2 separate regions of the Homo sapiens genome follow, and region 1 is linked to region 2. Evidence: promoter capture Hi-C in 16 types of primary human blood cells and fetal thymus (Javierre and others, 2016). All regions are on one chromosome and are shown on one strand. The core of a region is centred on a gene start or on the middle of the fragment in contact, and the rest is flanking DNA. Distances in the headings are between cores, read along the strand shown.

The links. Contacts are between HindIII fragments. The CHiCAGO score rates a contact against its expected background, and 5 or more counts as called.
Region 1: a fragment that was not itself captured here is called in contact with the fragment with the promoter of KIF13B in region 2 in 5 of 17 cell types (activated CD4 T cells, total CD4 T cells, fetal thymus and 2 more); the score reaches 9.3 in activated CD4 T cells.

What each region holds. Positions count from the first base shown.
Region 1 is chr8:30,048,423-30,051,122 of GRCh38, forward strand. No RefSeq gene overlaps it. Among named protein-coding and RNA genes, the nearest start is that of SARAF, 33 kb to the right of the region's middle. The HindIII fragment of the contact is 1,666 bases long and covers 552-2,217 here.
Region 2 is chr8:29,261,820-29,264,519 of GRCh38, forward strand. It overlaps KIF13B (kinesin family member 13B), which reads right to left and starts at 1,251. Exons shown (of 40, transcript NM_015254.4): 1 at 1,161-1,251. The coding sequence starts at 1,215. RefSeq lists a silencer at 629-1,458. The HindIII fragment of the contact is 3,487 bases long and covers 36-2,700 here.

The sequences.
Region 1 (2,700 bases), core at 135-2,634, 790 kb after region 2:
CCTCCTGAGTAGCTGGCATTACAGGTGTGTGCCAGCACGCCCAGCTAACTTTTGTATTTTTAGTAGAGATGGGTTTCATTATGTTGGCCAGGCTGATCTTGAACTCCTGACCTTAAATGATCTGCCTGCCTTGGCTTCCCAAAGTGCTGAGATTACAAGCGTGAGCCACTGCGCCCAGCCTATTCTTCTTTCTTATGACCAGGCTTACAGGGTAAGGCAAGAAAGGGAAATAATGAGATAAAACAATTTCTTTATCACCTTTCACTTGATGACTTCTGGAAGCTGGTGTTGGAACAGCAATGTCCCAGAATCACAGACACTTAATGATGGAAGTCATCTGAGAAGCATCCTTGCCTGTTGCTCCGCCACACGGGCATTTTCCCTACAGAAAATGACAACAGATCCTTTCATTTCCATGAAGTCCAATAACTAACTAATAATTGTGAGTTATTTAAAATATCAAGTTAGGCAGTATTGAACTAATAATAAGAATGTATACGCAATGAGGAATCTGACTCCACTTTTTGATGCTTGACTGCTGACAGCTTTTAAGCTTCCATCTGCCTCTGCAGGGACCGAAACAGCATATATTTAAAATAATTGGCCAGGCACAGTGGTTCATGCCTCTAATCCCAGCACTTTAGGAGGCCGAGGCAAGAGGATCTCTTGAGGCCAGGAGTTTGAGACCAGCCTGGGCAACATAGTGGGACCCATCTCTACCAAAAATGAAAAAAATATTAGCTGGGTGTGGTAGCACACACCTGTAGTCCCAACTACTCTGGAGGCTGAGGTGGAAGGATCGCTTGAGCCCAAAAGTTCAGGGCTACAGCAAGCTATGAACCCACCACTGCACTCCAGCCTGGGTGACAGAACAAGACCAATTTAATTAATTGATTATTAATGTAATTAATTACTTATTAATTAATTAGCTAATTGATTTAATTTAATTAATTACTTATTAATTAGGAGGTTGAGGTGGGCGAATCACTTGAGGTCAGGAGCTCGAGACCAGCCTGGCCAACATGGTGAAACTCTGTCTCTACTAAAAATACAAAATTTAGCCGGACATCGTGGCCATGGATGTGGGGGACGACACTGCCATTCCAACACCAGCTTCCAGAAATCATCAAGTGAAAGGTAATAATAAGTAATAAGTAATTAATTAAATAAGAAAAGAAAATAATTGACTTACCATTATGTTTACCATCATGCTTATGCATCCAACAATAAAGACAGTACAGTAAACAATATTCCCAATCTGCTTGTTGTCATGATGCTTTAATAGGTCCCGGATTCAAAAGACTTCATTCTCCCAGTAAGACATCCTACTTGCAAAGACTTTCCTAAATATCATGGTTTGGGTTTTTGTTTTTGTTTTTGTTTTTGTTTTTTTTATTGAAATAGAGTCTCACTCTGTTGCCCAAGCTGGAGTGCAGTGGCGTGATCTTGGCTCATTGCAACATCTGCCTTCCAGGTTCAAGCAATTCTCCTGCCTCAGCCTCCTGAGTAGCTGGGATTACAGGCGCCCACCATCACGTCCGGCTAATTTTTGTATTTTTAGTAGAGACAGGGTTTCACCATGTTGGCCAGGCTGGTCTCGAACTCCTGACCTTAAATGATCCGCCCACCTCAACCTCCCAAAGTGCTGGGATTACGGTTGTGAGCCACCATGCCCAGCCTAAATATCATGGTTTTGAATAAGCACAGTGTCAATTTCTCTAATTTGTGTCATCATTCCACATATAGGGTGGGCTGTTGTATAAGGTGAAGAAAATTGATGTATGATCCATTGGTTACTCATTCATTCAATATGTGTTGAATACCTAGTATGAGACAGGCACTGTTGCGAACAATATGGACATAGTATAGAACAAGATAGACAAAAATCCCTGTCCTTGTGGAATTTATATTCTAGAAAGAGGGGGTAGGAAAAGTAATAATAAAGTAAATTATATAGTAAGTCAGAAGATAAGGGTTATAGGAGAAAATAGAACAGAATAAGGGAAATCCAAAGTCCTAGGGCAGAAATGGGGAAGTGAAATTATCATTAGAGTGGTTTGGTTTCCTTACTGCTGTTCACCAAATACATATGGTTTTTGATCTCCAGGCTTATACTAGGATTGTACTTCCCTATCATATTAAAGTTAAGTACAGCCATAGGACTTGTTTTGGCCAATGGAATGTGAGCAGAAATGATGTGTGTGATTTCTGGACAGAAGCTTTAAGTATAGTGTGTGATTCTCCACATGCCTCTCCCACTGCTGCATGCCATAGGAAGCTTCACTTGGCCAGAATTCCTGAATAACATCATGAGCCAAAGCCCCTGCCAACCTGTGTTAGACACTTGGTGTGAGCTACATATTAAGCTAATGAGATTTTTGGTCTTGTTTGTTACTGCAGCATAACCCGACCTATCCTAACTGATGCAAGTTGTCAGGGTAGACCCCACTAAGACAGCAAATGATAGTGGCTTGAACCTGAGTGACAATAGCAGAAGAGATGAGAAGTCATCAGAATCTGGAAATATTTTGCTGTATGGAAAAGAGTTAAGTCCTATATGATTGAAAATGTGAGACCAGTTACAGCAGACTACATTGATTCTAATAGTATGTCAGAGACATTTTGTGTAAAAAGGGGAAATATACTTGTGTAAAAAGGGGAAGGGTTCTAGGGGCAATCTTTTATGGTCTGGTGACAATC
Region 2 (2,700 bases), core at 1-2,500:
AGAAACCAATTTCCCCGAGAAGGACAAACCAACAAAGCTTATGTCAACTGGTTGATCTGTATGTCTCAATATATACAAAAGAAAGCAAAGAAGAGGAAAACAACCTATAATTTCTACATAAAAATTAAACAACACTTGATTTTGCTAAGAAGCTACAACTTTGTCTCTGGTACTTAAATGATTCTAATTAGTTCAAAGTCTCATCAATGGCAAAGTCATCTCCTGAGACAGTAATAGTGACCCCCAATGACAGGACCTTGTATATAAAGCGTTTTCAAACACATTATCTTATTTAAAGCAACTCACCCAGTCATGCTGCTTTGACTATCAAAGCCAAGACCCAGCCCACCTCCTCCCCTGACTTTTGGGGTTCTCTCCACTCCCCGGGTCTACAGATTATTTAAATGTACTCGGTTTATCTGCCTTCTCTACACTCCCTGCAGAGTTAAGAGAATGTCAGAAAGATACAATTCCACAAGAATCTTGGCACTTTAGCTATTTATTGAGAGATGATGAATGAGACTTCAGGCAAAACCAAAACTTTCTCAACTGTCCAAAAACAACGAAAAGGGCATCTCCTCCACCTGACCCCAATCTCAGGACGCCCAGGTGGAAGGAACTCGCCGCGGGGCACCCGCCTGGCCCCCTGCCCTTCTTCCCGCCGCGGGCCAAGGCGGTGCAGGCTTGGGCGACCCGGGCGAGACGCGGGGTCCCGGGGGGTCCCGGGCGGTCCCGAGGCGGGCTGCAGGGGCTGGCGACCCGCGCGCGGGGGCGACGATGACAGCTGGCGGGGAAGGAGCGAGGCTGAGGGGCCAGGACGAGGCTGGGCGCGAGGGCCGAGGGCGCCCTCGGGAACCTCCGGGGGAGACGAGAGGGCAAAAGGGCGCAGGGGCGGGGCGGGCGCAGGCGGAAGGGGCAGCGGGGCCGGCACGAGGGGCCCGACGGCGCCAGGGACGGGGCTGGCCAGGGGGGAAGGGAGGGGAGAAGAGGGAGCCGGGCGTCTCAGCGCGGGAGCGGGTTTCAGGGTCCCCGGGCCCCTCCTCGCGCCCCGCCGCTGACTATAGGGGCGGGGCCGCCGGACCCCCCACGGCGGCCGAGGGAAGGGCGCGCCAGGCACCTGCCGCCTCCGCCCCGGCGGCCCAGGAGGGCTCGGCTCTCACCTCGCCGGTTCATGGGTCGTATCCGCACCGCCACTTTCACTTTGGAGTCCCCCATCCTGCAGCCGCCGAGGAACTCGTTCGGCTTCCGTCTGCCGCGGCCACCGGCGACTCTTCGGGGTTGACCCGGCGGGAGGGGGCCGGGGGCGGAGCCGGGGGTGGGGACCGGGCTGGGGGCGGGGCCGGCGCGAGCTCCGGGCGCTCCCCGCTGTATGGCGGGACTTGTAGTTCCCCAGGGTCGTCGTGGGCGGGGCCGCAGCGAAGGCGGGGGCGGGAATGCTCGGGCGCGAGTCGTTTGCTACAACTTACCTACAGCAATGACGGCTTTTGTAAATTACACACCATTCTTGCTCTCGCAGCCAGTATTGAGAAGTAAGCCTTCAAGAGCTGATACCTCTTCTGAAAAACAATTGAATAGATGGCGTCAGGGACCCCGCTACCTCTTCCTGCTCATTTCCTGCCAATCTTAGTGTTTGATCCCTGGCTCAAGTTATTTCCTCTGCCTGGATTGACGTCCGGCCTTGTTTGCTGAGCTCGTCCTTCACGACAAGTTGCAAATCACGTTTTCTGGGAGTGTCCATAGGTCCACGGGTTAACATTGTCCTGTGAGTCCCCCTCCTTTGAGACAGGACCTTGGGCTCTGAAAACCATCTGAGTTCAAAGCCCACCTCAGCGCTTCCCACTGTGTGACCAGGGGCAAGTTATTTGACCGCTCTGGGCTTGTCTTTAATATGAAAAGTGGATATGATACTAATACCTAGTAAAATAGGTACATTTTTAAATAAGATTAACATATGTGTAACCTAGCCTTTAGTAGAGACCCATAAACATTAATTGCATGAATTAATGAATGAGGCCACACTAAAATTAGCTTTTTATTAGCCCTGGCAGACATTCTAACAGGTGGCCTGGGTGCCAGAGCCAGCACGCAAACATGTTCTGTTTGGCCCAACAGTGTTGGCCAACACATAAAAATCAGATTTGTGGCCAGGTGCAGGGGCTCACACCTGGAATCCCAGCATTTTAGGATGCTGAGGCAGGAGGATTGCTTGAGGCCAGGAGTTTGAGACCAGCTTGGGTAACAGAGTGTGAAATCAGATTTGTGCATGCAGTACTGGGCCTACATTACATATTGGACAGAGTGGATTGGAACTAAATAGCAGCAGCCACCTTTATCAGAGACCCGTCTCTCCACTTCACCACGGCCCCCCTCCAGGTGGCTTTACCACACATGCGCCTGGACCTTGTGGGTTTGTGACCCCTGCTTAGATGTGTTTAAATGATAGTAATAGAACTCAGAACCATTTTACAGATGAGTAAATACAGAAAGCTGGTAAGACTTGCCCTTTTACCAACCATCCTGTTATTGAGTATCTTCAATACAAGCAATGTTGTCAAAAAGTATAAAAATACTTTTTTTTTTTTGAGATGGATCTAGCTCTGTCACCCAGGCTGGAGTACAGTGGCATGATCTCGGCTCACTGCAACCTCCACCTCCTGGCTTCAAGCGACTCTCATGCCTCAACCTCGACAGTAGCTGGGA